Linked DNA regions of Homo sapiens: region 2 is linked to region 1. The links are contacts of gene promoters, found by promoter capture Hi-C in human tissues and cell types (Jung and others, 2019). All regions are on one chromosome and are shown on one strand. The core of a region is centred on a gene start or on the middle of the fragment in contact, and the rest is flanking DNA. Distances in the headings are between cores, read along the strand shown. Region 1 holds the start of FXN (frataxin). Region 2 overlaps SMC5-DT (SMC5 divergent transcript).

Region 1 (7,039 bases), core at 1,666-4,165:
TTTAGTAGAGATGGGGTTTCACCATGTTGGCCAGGCTGGTCTTGAACTCCTGATCTCAGATGATCCACTCGCCTCGGCCTCCCAAAGTCCTGGGATTACAGTCGTGAGCCACCGTGCCTGGTCTCATTACTGATTTTTAAAATACTGATTACATGTTGGAATGATAATATTTTGTATGTACTAGGTTGAATAAATATATTGTTGAAAATGATTTTTTTTTCTTTTTAACTAGAAAATGTAGAATTATGTGTGTGGCTCCCATTCTGTTTCTGTTGAACAGCTGCTTTAGAAGTAGATGCAAGGGGTGGAGAAAAGGGTGGGGAAGAGGCCTTCAAGTGAACTCAGTTTCTGATGAATTTTGGAGACCAGGGGGAGCTTAGGGTCAATCCAGGACAGTCAGGGCTTTAAAATAATTAAACAGGATGGTGGCCCCAGTTGCCACTGCCACCCACCCAACTCCTCAAATACCCAAGATGTGCAAGGGAACTATGGAACAGACAGGTTAAACAAATGTGATTAATTCAGTATAGAAAAAAAGAGGCCCAGCTGGTGACAGAGGTTGCTAACCATCTATCCAGAAACCCAGTGTCCACCTCCTGGGCGGCAGCGCCAAGTTGGGTGTGTTTGTCAGTCAATAGCCCTTAACAGCCACCAGGTACCATCTAAAAAACTGTACCACCTCTTGTCATTCTCCTAAATTAAAAACTCTGCTGATGGCCAGACGCGGTGGCTCACGCCTGTAATTCCAGCACTTTGGGAGGGCGAGGTGGGCGGATCACCTGAGGTTGGGAGTTCGAGACCAGCCTGACCAACATGGAGAAATCTGTCTCTACTAAAAATACAAAATTAGCCGATAATCCCAGCTACTCGGGAGGCTGAGGCAGGAGAATCACTTGAACCCAGGAGGCAGAGGTTGCAGTGAGCTGAGACTGAGCCACTGCACTCCAGCCTGGGCAACAAGAGGGAAACTCTGTCTCAAAAAAACAAAACAAAACACAACTCTGCTGACAACCCATGCTGTCCACACAGGCAGGGGTGGAAGCCCAATACGTGGCAGCTCAGATAGTGCACAGAAGCCAAGTAATAAATGTCTGCTTTCCTAGAGGAGATCTAAGGACCATCATGGCCACACTTGCCTATTTTTCCAGAGATGCTGGGAAATCCATTTTATTTTTTATTTTTATTTATTATTATTATTTTTTGAGACGGAGTCTTGCTCTGTCGCCCAGGCCGGAGTGCATTGGGCGATCTTGGCTTAATGCAACCTCTGCCTCCCGGGCTCAAGCGATTCTCCTGCCGCAGCCTCTGGAGTAGCTGGGATTACAGGCGCGCGACACCACGCCCGGCTAACTTTTCTTTATTTTCTTCTTCTTCTTCTTCTTTTTTTTTTTTTTTTGTATTTTTTAGTAGATACTGGGTTTCACCATGTTGGCCAGGTTAGTCTTGAACTCCGGACCTCAGGTGATCCACCTTCCTAGGCCTCCCAAAGTGCTGAGATTATGGGCATGAGCCACCGCGTCCTGCCAGGAAATCCATTTTCTAAGTCCTAACTTTTAAGCACTGGCAACCAATCCCAAAGTTTCTTCAAACACAATGTGGGCCAAATAACACGTGTGGGAAGTTCAAGCCTAAAGTACAAACTCCGGAGAGCAACACAAATATGGCTTGGACGTGGCCTGCCTCTTTCATCTCCCCTAATACATGCGGCGTACCAGCCACTCTGAAGGGATCCCCTTCCGCCTTCCTGGCCTTTGCCCAGACGGTTCCCTCCTCGTGAAACACCCTCTACCACTTCCTTGGCATCTTCAAGACCCTCATTAAATACCATGTCCTCCCCTTGAGGAATCTTCCTCATCCCCACAGCCATTCTTTGGGTTTCCTCCTTTCAAGCCGTGGCGTAACTGGGTCAGATATTTCTTTGTACCCCCCAAAGGAAGAAAGGGGAACTAATTTGAAGTTCTGAAGACTTTATCTATGTTATTCCCATTTAATCCTCACACCAGGTCCGCAAAATGGGCGTCACCTTTATCTTCTCCCTACAGAAAACAAAGCCACGTCTCAGAGAGGTTAGGGGAATCCCCCAAGGTCACACAGCTCTGCGGAGTGGGGCAGAATCTGGAATAAAGGTCGGGTCAGTTTCCAAAAGCCAGGGCCCCTGCTGCTCTAGCTATTCTGCAGCTCTGAAAGTTTCACCTCGTTCCAGGAAAGCATTTCGTTCAAAAAAATCCAGCCTTGAAAATATTAGGTGTGCGCGCGCCCGTGCGCGCAAACACACACACACAACACACACGCTATATACAGATACACACAGACACACACATTATGTGTATGTATATACTAGCAGATACCATCTATTAATATTACTGAAACAAGTTATCGCAGAGAAGTGACAAGCATGGAGACAGCCGCACACCCCTCGGAACCGGTCCCCTCCACCAGCCTGCCCTGCCTTCGCCCGTGCCTTGACCCGCAGTCGCACCGCAGGACAAAATGTCCCCTTTTCCTTCGGAAAGCAGAAGCCAGTGTAAATGCAACCGGGAGAACCAGAGAAGGGAGTTGCAAGGCCGCTTCCGCCGGGCCGCCCTGAGAAGGAGCGGGGTGAGCTAGTCCAGCGCGCGTACCCGGAGCGACCCCGGCGTGCGCGGCGCCTCCCTGCGCAGGCGTGCGGCGTGCGGCCCGCGGCGTGCGGCCCGCGGCTGTTCCCGGCGCGGATACTTACTGCGCGGCGGGGCGTGCAGGTCGCATCGATGTCGGTGCGCAGGCCACGGCGGCCGCAGAGTGGGGCCAACTCTGCCGGCCGCGGGACCCGGGTGAGGGTCTGGGCCTGGGCTGGGCTGGGTGACGCCAGGAGGCCGGCTACTGCGCGGCGCCCGAGAGTCCACATGCTGCTCCGGGTCTGCCGCCCGCTCCGCCCTCCAGCGCTGGGTGCTGCGGCGACCCCTGGTGGCCACTGGCCGCAGGCACTCTTCTGTGGGGGAGCAGCTAGAGGTTAGACCTCAGGAAGAACTTCCCAGCTTAGCACTATTCGTGCATTTAACAAAAATGGAGAGCCTGCTTTGTGCAAAGCACGGAGTGCAACCAGGACCCCTGACCCAAGGGAGACTGCAGCCTGGTGGCCCGCCGCTTCTAAAATTCTAAACAGGAGGAACTTGGGAGCTGCTGTCTTGCTGGGAAGTGGGTGCATGCACAAATTGAGGCTGCTTGGCCGCCGGTATGGGTTTACAGCAGTTGGGTATGTGGGGCCAGGAGACGGATGCCTTGTGTAAATCTGTACTCTGCCCACTTCCTAGCTGTGTGACCAGAGGGCAAGTTAATTAACCTCTCTGTGCCTTGTTTATAAAATGCGTTTTATAAAAGTTCCTACTTCATAGGATTGTGGTAAGGATAAAATGAGTTAAGCCCTGTAAAGTTTTTTTTGGACAGGGCATGTTCCTGTTAAGTGCACAATAAATATTGTTAATAGATTTTATTGATTGATTGATTGATTGAGACGGAGTCTCGCTCTGTCGCCCAGGCTGGAGGGCAGTGGTGCGATCTCGGCTCACTGCAAGCTCTGCCTCCCGGTTTCACGCCATTCTCCTGCCTCAGCCTCCCGAGTAACTGGGACTACAGGCGCCCGCCACCATGCCTGGCTAATTTTTTGTATTTTTTTTTTTTTTTAGTAGAGACGGGTTTCACCGTGTTAGCCAGGATGGTCTCGATCTACTGACCTCGTGATCCACCCGCCTCATTTATTTGTTTGTTTGAGACAGAGTCTCACTCTGTTGCCCAGGCTGGAGTGCAGTGGTGTGGTCCTGGCTTACTGCAACTTCTCCCTCCCGGGCTCAAGCAGTCTTCCCATTTCAGCCTTCCAAGTAGCTGGGACTACAGGTGTGCACCACCACACCCAGCTAGTTTTTGTATTTTTTGTAGAAAGGGGGTTTCGCTATGTTGCCCAGGGTGGTCTTGAACTTCTAGGCTCAAACGATCTGCCCGCCTGGGCCTCACAAAGTGCTGAGACGACAGGCGTGAGCCACCGTGCCTTGCCTATTGTTGATAGATTTTAAAAGAGAATTTTATTTCTGTTACATATTACAAAGGGATGCAAATTGTGAAAGTTTTCTTCACATTTTATATATGCTTTAGAGGATGTCAAATGTGAGCCGAGTGTGGTAGTGCATGCCTGTGATCTCAGCTACTCAGGAGGCTGAGGCGGGAGGATCACTTGAGCCTGGGAGCTCAAGGCTGCAGTGAGCTATGATTGTGCCTGTGAATAGCCACAGCATTCCAGCCCGGCCATCATAGCAAGATACTGTCTTAAAAAAAAAGAAAATGTCAGTTGTGTACACTTTCCATGGCAGAGAAGATGGGAAGGTACTAAAGTTCTTCCAAAGCCACTTTGTGAATCGTGAAGAGAGACATGTTTACATACTTAGGATGCTAAATGACAAGTGTCAAGAGGAATGTAAACTAACAGGTGTGAGTGTTGAGTGGGAGATTTATATAGAGCTAGGGATGGGGGAATCAAGGAAGTATTCATGGAAGAAGTGGTGTTGGCACAGGGCCTTCAAAAATAGGGTGGAGGAGGTGGGATCTGATTGCCTATCAAAGAGGTGGTCCAGGGCATTCTGGATGAGAGACATCCTTCTGTGTTTAATTAATTCTAGGCAGCTGCTTAAATACTGTTATGTATATGCCAGGCCTGGAGAAATCATTTTCCCCCTGCAAAGTATCTGGAGATGCTTTTGATTGTCACAACAGGCAGCTGTGGGGTGGGTATGTTCTACTGGCATCTAGTAGGTAGAGGCCAGGGATGAAACATCCTGTGATGTGCAGGACAGCCCCCCACCTGTGCAACAAAGAACTATCCAGTCCAAAATTCTGCCAAGATTGAGAAGCCCTCCTTGAAACCATAAAGGGAGAGCCCATAGGCATCAAAGGGTAGTGTTTTCATTGCCAGCCATGGTCTCAGACTCTGCCACACCAACAGTGAGGCCCTTCCTCACATCATCAGAACTGCATTATATACTCAGAGAGAGAAAGCTGCATCATTAGTTATTATTATTATTATTATTTGAGACAGAGTCTTGCTTTGTTGCCCAGGCTGGAATGCAGTGGTGCCATCTCTGCTCACTGCAATCTCCACCTCCTGGGTTCAAGAGATTCTGTCTCAGCCTCCAGAGTAGCTGGGATTGCAGGTGCCCACCACCACGCCTGGCTAATTTTTGTATTTTTAGTAGAGATGGGGTTTCATCATGTTGGCCAGGCTGGTCTCGAACTCCTGACCTCAGGTGATCCGCCCGCCTCGGCCGCCCAAAGTGCTGAGATTACAGGCGTGAGCCACCGCACCCTGTGCTACATCATTATTAGCTAGCATGCTTAGCAAGTTCTGGCATAGAAAGGTCACTAGCAAATGCTCCAGCTCCCTGCAAAGTTGATATCATTGCCCCATCTTTTTGGCCAAAGAAATAGACATAGAATAGCATATCAGAGAAGACGAAGGCTTCGCAAGAACTTGTCTTTCTCCACTTCCTTGGAGGTAGTCAAGAGGAATCAGGCACACTTGGTAAGAAGCTGGGGCACCGTGGCGTGGGCAAAGATGTTGAGGGACTCTGTGGTACACTGTAGCTGTTCCTCTCTTGGTTGCTTTTAGCCTCAAGTAGGCAGATCCTAATAGCTGTCAGGTTATGGGTAGGGGAGGATATCACCAGAATTCCCTTGCTCTGCCATTAGGATATTTTGATAGGATTTATCAGAGGGCTATGATTATCAAATGTGGTCGCTGGGCCAGCAGCCTCAGCATCACCTGGAAACTTGTTAGAAATACAAATTCTCAGGCCCTATTCTCGATCTACTGAATCAGAATCTCTGGGGTTTCAAGGCCCAGCAATCCATGGTTTAACAAGACCTCCAGGTGATTCTAATGTGCTTTAAAGTTTCAGAAGCACTGTGGTAGCATAGGCCTTGGGCAAAATTGTGAGTTAAGCCAGTGTCACCAGGGTGATCATTTTAAATCTAAAAATCTAAATCTCAAATGTGAATCTAACCATAGCCCTCTGCTTTCACCACCATCAAGATAAATTCCAACTTTCTTAGCATGACAGAGGAAGCTCTCTTGCCCACCTTAGCTCTCCCAGCGCCCTTACCACTCTCTTCTGTACACCCCACTCTGCATATTGGGAGGCATCTAGACATCTTTGCTTCTTCAAGCTATTTGTAGTTCCTAGAACAAGTGATGCTTTTTCCCTCTCTGGCTATCCCTCATGTTGTTCCTTAGTCTTCCATCCCTTTGCCTGGTATGGAAGATTGGATCTTCCAAAGAAGGCCACACCAATATTTGTCACATGTCATATGCTGTTTGGGACTTTGACATTCCTGTCACCCAGGGATGTTATCTATTCTCCTCCCTTCGAATTCGGGTTTGGGCTACAACTATTCCAACCAACAGGGTACTGCAGAAGTGCTGCTTGGTGACTTCCAAGTCCAGGTCATAAAAATGATGCATCTTCCTTCTAACTCCCTCTCTCTCTCTTTTTTTTTTTTTTGGGTTTTTGTTTGTTTGAAACAGAGTCTCATTCTGTTACCCAGGCTGAAATGCAGTGGTGTGGTCATAGCTCACAGCAGCCTTGACCTCCTGGAATCAAGTGATCCTCCTGCCTCAGCCTCCTAAGTAACTGGGACTATAGGTGTGCATAACCACACCTGGCTGATTTTTAAAATTTTAAAAATTTTTGGTAGAGACAGAGTCTCACTATGTTGCCCAGGCTGGTCTTGAACTCCTGAACTCAAGCAACCTCCCACCTCAGCCTCCCAAATTGCTGAGGTTACAGGTGTGAGCCACTGTGTCCGGCATTCTCTTTTTGGGATGCTGACACTGAGGACCAGCCATCATGTTTTGAGGAAATCCAAACTAGCCAAAGTAGAGAAACAATGTAGAGAGAGCTGAGGCCCCCTCAGCCAACAGCCAGGGTCAACCAGTAGACATGTAAATGAGTCATTCTTCAGATAAATTCCAGCCCCCAGCCTCCCAGTCTTCCAGCTGAATCCTTAGACATCATGG
Region 2 (7,039 bases), core at 1,690-4,189, 1.2 Mb before region 1:
GTGGTTTTTGTTGTTGCTTCTGTTTATGTGATGGAATACATTTATTGATTTGCATATGTTGAACCAGCCTTGCATCCCAGTGATGAAGCCGACTTGATCGTGGTGGATAAGCTTTTTGATGTGCTGCTGGATTCGGTTTGCCAGTTTTTTATTGAGGATTTTTGCATTGATGTTCATCAGGGATATTGGTCTAAAATTCTCTTTTTTTGTTGCGTCTCTGCCAAGCTTTGGTATCAAGATGATGTTGGTCTCATAAAATGAGTTAGGGAGGATTCCCTCTTTTTCTATTGATTGGAATAGTTTCAGAAGGAATGGTACCAGCTCCTCTTTGTACCTCTGGTAGAATTTGGCTGTGAATCCGTTTGGTCCTGGACTTTTTTTGATTGGTAGGCTATTAATTATTGACTCAATTTCAGAGTCTGTTATTTATCTATTCAGAGATTCCCCTTCTTCCTCGTTTAGTCTTGGGAGGGTGTATGTGTCCAGGAATTTACCCATTTCTTCTTGAGTTTCTAGTTTATTTGCATAGAGGTGTTTATAGTATTCTCTGATGGTAGTTTGTATTTCTGTGGGATCGGTGGTGATATCCCCTTTATCATTTTTTATTGTGTCTATTTGATTTTTCTGTCTTTTCTTCTTTATTAGTCTTGCTAGAGGTCTATAAATCTTGTTGATCTTTTCAAAAAACCAGCTCCTGGATTCATTGATTTTTTGAAGGGTTTTTTGTGTCTCTATCTCCTTCAGTTCTGCTCTGATCTTAGTTGTTTCTTGCCTTCTGCTAGATTTTGAATTTGTTTGCTCCTGCCTGTCTAGTTGTTTTAATTGTGATGTTAGGGTGTCAATATTAGATCTTTCCTTCTTTCTCTTGTGGGCATTTAGTGCTATAAATTTCCCTCTACACACTGCTTTAAATGTGTCCCAGAGATTATGGTACGTTGTGTCTTTGTTCTCATTGGTTTTAAGGAACATCTTTATTTCTGCCTTCATTTCATTATTTACACAGTAGTCATTTAGGAGCAAGTTGTTCAGTTTCCATGTAGTTATGCAGTTTTGAGTGAGTTTCTTAACCCTAAGTTCTAATTTCATTGCACTGTGGTCTGAGAGACAGTTTGTTGTGATTTCTGTTGTTTTACATTTGCTGAGGAGTGCTGTATTTGCAATTATGTGGTCAGTTTTAGAATAAGTGCGATGTGGTGCTGAGAAGAATGTATATTCTGTTGATTTGGGGTGGAGGGTTCTGTAGGTATCTATTAGGTCTGCTTGTTGCAGAGCTGGGTTCAAGTCCTGGATACCCTTTTTTAACCTTCTGTCTCATCGATCTGTCTAATACTGACAATGGGGTGTTAAATTCTCCCATTATTATTGTGTGAGAGTCTAAGTCTCTTCGTAGGTCTCTAAGGACTTGCTTTATGAATCTGGTTGTTCCTGTATTGGGTGCATATATGTTTAGGATAGTTAGCTCTTCTTGTTGAATTGATCCCTTTACCATTATGTAATGGGCTCTTTGTTTCTTTTGATCTTTGTTGGTTTAAAGTCTGTTTTATCAGAGACTAGGATTGCAACCCCTGGTTTTCTTTGCTTTCGATTTGCTTGGTAAATTTTCCTCCCTCCCTTTATTTTGAACCTATGTGCGTCTTTGCATGTGAGATGGGTCTCCTGAATACAGCACACTGATGTCTTGACTGTTTATCCAATTTGCCAGTCTGTGTCTTTCAATTGGCGCATTCAGCCTATTTACATTTAAGGTTAATATTGTTACGTGTGAATTTGATCCTGTCATTATGATGTTTACTGGTTATTATGCCCGTTAATTGATGCAGTTTCGTCATAGCATCAATGGTCTTTACAATTTGGCATGGTTTTTCAGTGGCTTGTACCAGTTTCTTTCCATGTTTAGTGCTTCCTTCAGGAGCTCTTGTAGGGCAGGCCTGGTGGTGACAAAATCTCTGAGCATTTGCTTGTCTTTAAAGGATTCTATTTCTCCTTCACTTACGAAGCTTAGTTTGGCTGGAAATGAAATTCTGGGTTGAAAATTCTTTAAGAATGTTGAATACTGGCCCCCACTCTCTTCTAGCTTGTAGGTTTTCTGCCGAGAGATCCGCTGTTTGTTTGATGGGCTTCCCTTTTTGGGTAACTCGACCTTTCCCTCTGGCTGCCCTTAACACTTTTTCCTTCATTTCAACCTTGGAGAATCTGACAGTTATGTGTCTTGGAGTTGCTCTTGTTGAGGAGTATCTTTGTGGTGTTCTCTGTATTTCCTGAATTTGAATGTTGGCCTGTCTTGCTAGGTTGGGGAAGTTCTCCTGGATAATATCCTGAAGACCGTTTTCCAGCTTGGTTCCATTCTCCCCACCACTTTCAGGTACACCAATCAAATGTAGATTTGGTCTTTTCACAGAGTTCCATATTTCTTGATGGCTTTGTTTGTTTCTTTTACTCTTTTTTCTCTAACCTTGTCTTCTTGCTTTATTTCATTAATTTGATCTTCAATCACTGATACCCTTTCTTCCACTTGATTGAATCAGCTCTTGAAGCTTCTGCATGTGTCGTGAAGTTCCCGTGCCATGGTTTTCATCTCCATCGGATCATTTAAGATCTTCTCTACACTGTTTATTCTAGTTAGCCATTCGTCTAATCTCTTTTCAAGGTTTTTAACGTCTTTGCGATGGGTTCGAACATCCTCCTTTAGCTCCAAGAAATTTGTTATTACCGACCTTCTGAAGCCTACTTCTGTCAGCTCATCAAAGTCATTCTCCATCCAGCTTTGTTCCGTTGCTGGTGAGGAGCTATGATCCTTTGGAGGAGAAGAGGTGCTCTGATTTTTAGAATTTTCAGCTTTTCTGCTCTGGTTTCTCCCCATCTTTATGATTTTAGCTACCTTTGGTCTTTTATGTTGGTGACCTACAGATAGGATTTTGGTGTAGATTACCTTTTTGTTGATGTTGATGCTATTCCTTTCTGTTTGTTAGTTTTCTTCTAACAGTCAGGTCCCTCAGCTGCAGGTCTGTTGGAGTTTGCTGAAGGTCCATTCCTGACTCTGTTTGCCTGGGTATCACCAGTGGAGGCTGCAGAACAGCAAGTATTGCAGAACAGCAAATACTGCTATCTGATCCTTCCTTTGGAAGCTTTGTCTCAGAGGGGCAACTGCCTATATGAGGTGTCTGTTGGACCCTACTGGAGGTGTTTCCCAGTTAGGCTACATGGGGGTCAGGGACCCACTTGAGGAAGCTGTCTGTCTGTTCTCAGAGCTCAGACACTGTGCTGGGAGAACCACTGTTCTCTTCAGAGCTGTCAGACAGGGACGTTTAAGTTGCAGAAGTTGTCTGCTGCCTTTTATTCAGCTATGCCCTGCCCACAAAGGTGGAGTCTAGAGCAGTAGGCCTTGTTGAGCTGCGGTGGGTTCCTCCCAGTTCGAACTTCCCAGCCACTTTGTATACCTACTCAAGCCTCAGCAATGGCGGATGCCCCTCCCCCAGCCAGGCTGCCCCCTTCGCAGTTCGATCTCAGACTGCTGCGCTAGCAGTGAGCAAGGCTCTGTGGGCGTGGGACCTGCTAAGCCAGGCACAGGAGAGAATCTCCTTGTCTGCCGGTTGCTAAGACCTTGGGAAAAGCGCAGTATTTGGGTGGCAGTGTCCCGTTTTTCCAGGTGGTCTGTCACGGCTTCCCTTGGCTAGGAAAGGGAAATCCCCCAACCCCTTGCAATTCCTGAGTGAGGCAATGCCTCGCCCTGCTTCAGCTTGCCCTCTGTGGGCTGCACCCACTGTCCAACCAGTCCCAATGAGATGAACCAGGTACCTCAGTTGGAAATGCAGAAATCACCCGTCTTCTGCATTGATCATGCTGGGAGCTGCAGACTAGAGCTGTTCCTGTTTGGCCATCTTGGAACGCCCTCCTCTTAAGTTAATTTTTTAAGGTAATAAAATTCTCTCTGTATTAATTTAGCCACACCTCACAAATTTTGATACATAGTACTTTACCATGATACGTATATATATACACATATTGTCATACATTTATATGCATATCTATAAAATACATGATTTCTTCTTTTTTTTAATTATACTTCAAGTTCTTTAGTGCATGTGGAGAACGTGCAGGTTTGTTACATAGGTATACACATGCCATGGTCATTTGCTGTACTCATCAACCTGTCATCCACATTAGGTATTTCTCCTAATGCTGTCCCTCCCCTAGGCCCCCACCCTCAAACAGGCCCCGGTGTGTGATGTTCCCTTCCCTGTGTCCATGTGTTCTCATTGATCAACTCTCACTTATGAGTGAGAACATGCAGCATTTGGTTTTCGGTTCTTGTGTTAGTTTGCTGAGAATGATGGTTTCCAGTGTCATCCATGTCCCTCCAAAGGACATGAACTCATTCTTTTTTATGGCTGCATAGTATTCCATGGTGTATATGTGCCACATTTTCTTTATCCAGTCTATTATTGATGGGCATTTGGGTTGGTTCCAAGTATTTGCTATTGTGAACAGTGCCACAATAAACATACGTGTGCATGGTCTTTATAGTAGAATGATTTATAATCCTTTGGGTGTATACTCAATAATACGATGGCTGGGTCAAATAATATTTCCAGTTCTAGATCCTTGAGGAATCGCCACACTGTCTTCCACAATGGTTGAACTAATTTACACTCCCACCAACAGTGTAAAAACATTTCTATTTCTCCACATCCTCTCCAGCATCTGTTGCTTCCTGACTTTTTAATGATCGCCATTCGGACTGGTGTGAGATGGTATCTTCTCATGGTTTTGATTTGCATTTCTCTAATGACCACTGATGATGAGCTTTTTTTTTCATATGTTTGTTGGCTGCATAAATGTCTTCTTTTGGGAAGTGTCCGTTCATATCTTTTGCCCACTTTTTGATGGAGTTTTTTTTCTTGTAAATTTGTTTAAGTTCTTTGTAGATTCTGGATATTAGCCCTTTGTCAGATGAGTAGATTGCAAAAATTTTCTCCCATTCTGCAGGTTCCTGTTCACTCTGATGGTAGTTTCTTTTGCTGTGCAGAAGCTCTTTAGTTTAATTAGATCCCATTTGTCAATTTTGGCTTTTGTTGCCATTGCTTTTGGTGTTTTCGACATGAAGTCCTTGCCCATGCCTATGTCCTGAATGGTATTGCCTAGGTTTTCTTCTAGGGCTTTTATGGTTTTAGGTCTAACAGTTAAGTCTTTAATCTCTGTTGAATTAATTTTTGTATAAGGTATAAGGAAGGAATCCAGTTTCAGCTTTCTACATATGGCTAGCCAGTTTTCCCGACACCATTTGTTAAATAGGGAATTCTTTCCCCATTTCTTTTTTTTGTCAGGTTTGTCAAAGATCAGAGAGTTGTAGATGTGTGGTGTTATTTCTGAGGGCTCTGTTCTGTTCCATTGGTCCATATCTGTTTTGGTACCAGTACCATGCTGTTTTGGTAAATGTAGCCTTGTAGTATAGTTTGGAGTCAGGTAGCGTGATGCCTCCAGCTTTGTTCTTTTGGCTTAGGATTGTCTTGGCAATGTGGGCTCTTTTTTGGTTCCATATGAAATTTAACATAGTTTTTTCCAATTCTGTGAAGAAAGTAATTGGTAGCTTGATGGGGATAGCATTGAATGTATAAATTACCTTGGGCAGTATGACCATTTCCACAATATTGATTCTTCCTATCCATGAGCATGGAATGTTTTTCCAATTGTTTGTGTCCTCTTTTATTTCATTGAGCAGTGGTTTGTAGTTCTCCTTGAAGAGGTCCTTCACATCCCTTGTAAGTTGGATTCCTAGGTATTTTATTCTCTTTGAAGCAATTGTGAATGGGAGTTCACTCATGATTTGGCTCTCTGTTTGTCTGTTATTGGTGTATAAGAATGCTTGTGATTTTTGGACATTGGTTTTGTATCCTGAGACTTTGCTGAAGTTGCTTATCAGCCTAAGGAGATTTTGGACTGAGACAATGGGGTTTTATAGATACACAATCATGTCATCTGCAAACAGGGACAATTTGACTTCCTCTTTTCCTAATTTAATACCCTTTATTTCTTTCTCTTGCCTGATTGCCCTGGCCAGAACTTCCAACACTATGCTGAATAGTAGTGGTGAGAGAGGGCATCCCTGTCTTGTGCCAGTTTTCAAAGGGAATGCTCCCAGTTTTTGCCCATTCAGTATGATATTGGCTGTGGGTGTGTCATAAATAGCTCTTATTATTTTGAGATACGTCCCATCAATACCTAATTTATTGAGAGTTTTTAGCATGAAGGGCTGTTGAATTTTTCAAAGGCCTTTCCTTATCTGTTGAGATAATCATGTGGTTTTTGTCTTTGGTTCTGTTTATATACTGGATTACGTTTATTGATTTGCATATATTGAACCAGCTTTGCATCCCAGGGATGAAGACCACTTGATCATGGTGGATAAGCTTTTTGATGTGCTTCTGGATTCGGTTTGCCAGTATTTTATTGAGGATTTTTACATCGATGTTCATCAGGGATATTGGTCTAAAATTCTCTTTTTTTGTTGTGTCTCTGCCAGGCTTTGGTATCAGGATGATGCTGGCCTCCTAAAATGAGTTAGGAAGGATTCCCTCTTTTTCTGTTCATTGGAATAGGTTCAGAAGGAATGGTACCAGCTCCTCCTTGTACCTCTGGTAGAATTCAGCTGTGCATCCATCTGGTCCTGTACTTTTTTTGGTTGGTAAGCTATTAATTATTGCCTGAATTTCAGAGCCTGTTATTGGTCTATTCAGAGATTGAGCTTCTTCCTGGTTTAGTCTTGGGAGGATGTATGTGTCGAGGAATTTATACATTTCTTCTAGATTTTCTAGTTTATTTGCATAGAGGTGTTTATAGTATTCTCTGATGGTAGTTTGTATTTCTGTGGGATCATTGGTGATATCCCCTTTTTCATTTTTTATTGCATCTATTTGATTCTTCTGTCTTTTCTTCTTTATTAGTCTTGCTAGCAATCTATCAATTTTGTTGATCTTTTCAAAAAACCAGCTCCTGGATTCATTGATTTTTTGAAGGGTTTTTCGTGTCTCTATCTCCTTCA

Evidence for each region. The method cuts DNA at HindIII sites, captures the fragments that hold promoters and counts their contacts. A contact is called where the count stands out against the background at its distance.
Region 2: a contact is called between a fragment that was not itself captured here and the fragment with the promoter of FXN in region 1, in 1 of the 25 tissues and cell types used here (dorsolateral prefrontal cortex).

Annotation. Positions count from the first base shown.
Region 1 is chr9:69,031,628-69,038,666 of GRCh38, reverse strand. FXN (frataxin) reads right to left here and starts at 2,915. Exons shown (of 5, transcript NM_000144.5): 1 at 2,720-2,915. The coding sequence starts at 2,884. RefSeq lists silencers at 1,680-1,974, 2,557-3,026 and an enhancer at 2,347-2,396. The HindIII fragment of the contact is 19,714 bases long and covers 1-7,039 here.
Region 2 is chr9:70,237,159-70,244,197 of GRCh38, reverse strand. All of the region lies in intron 2 of SMC5-DT (SMC5 divergent transcript), which reads left to right. Among named protein-coding and RNA genes, the nearest start is that of SMC5-DT, 18 kb to the left of the region's middle. The HindIII fragment of the contact is 3,655 bases long and covers 1,112-4,766 here.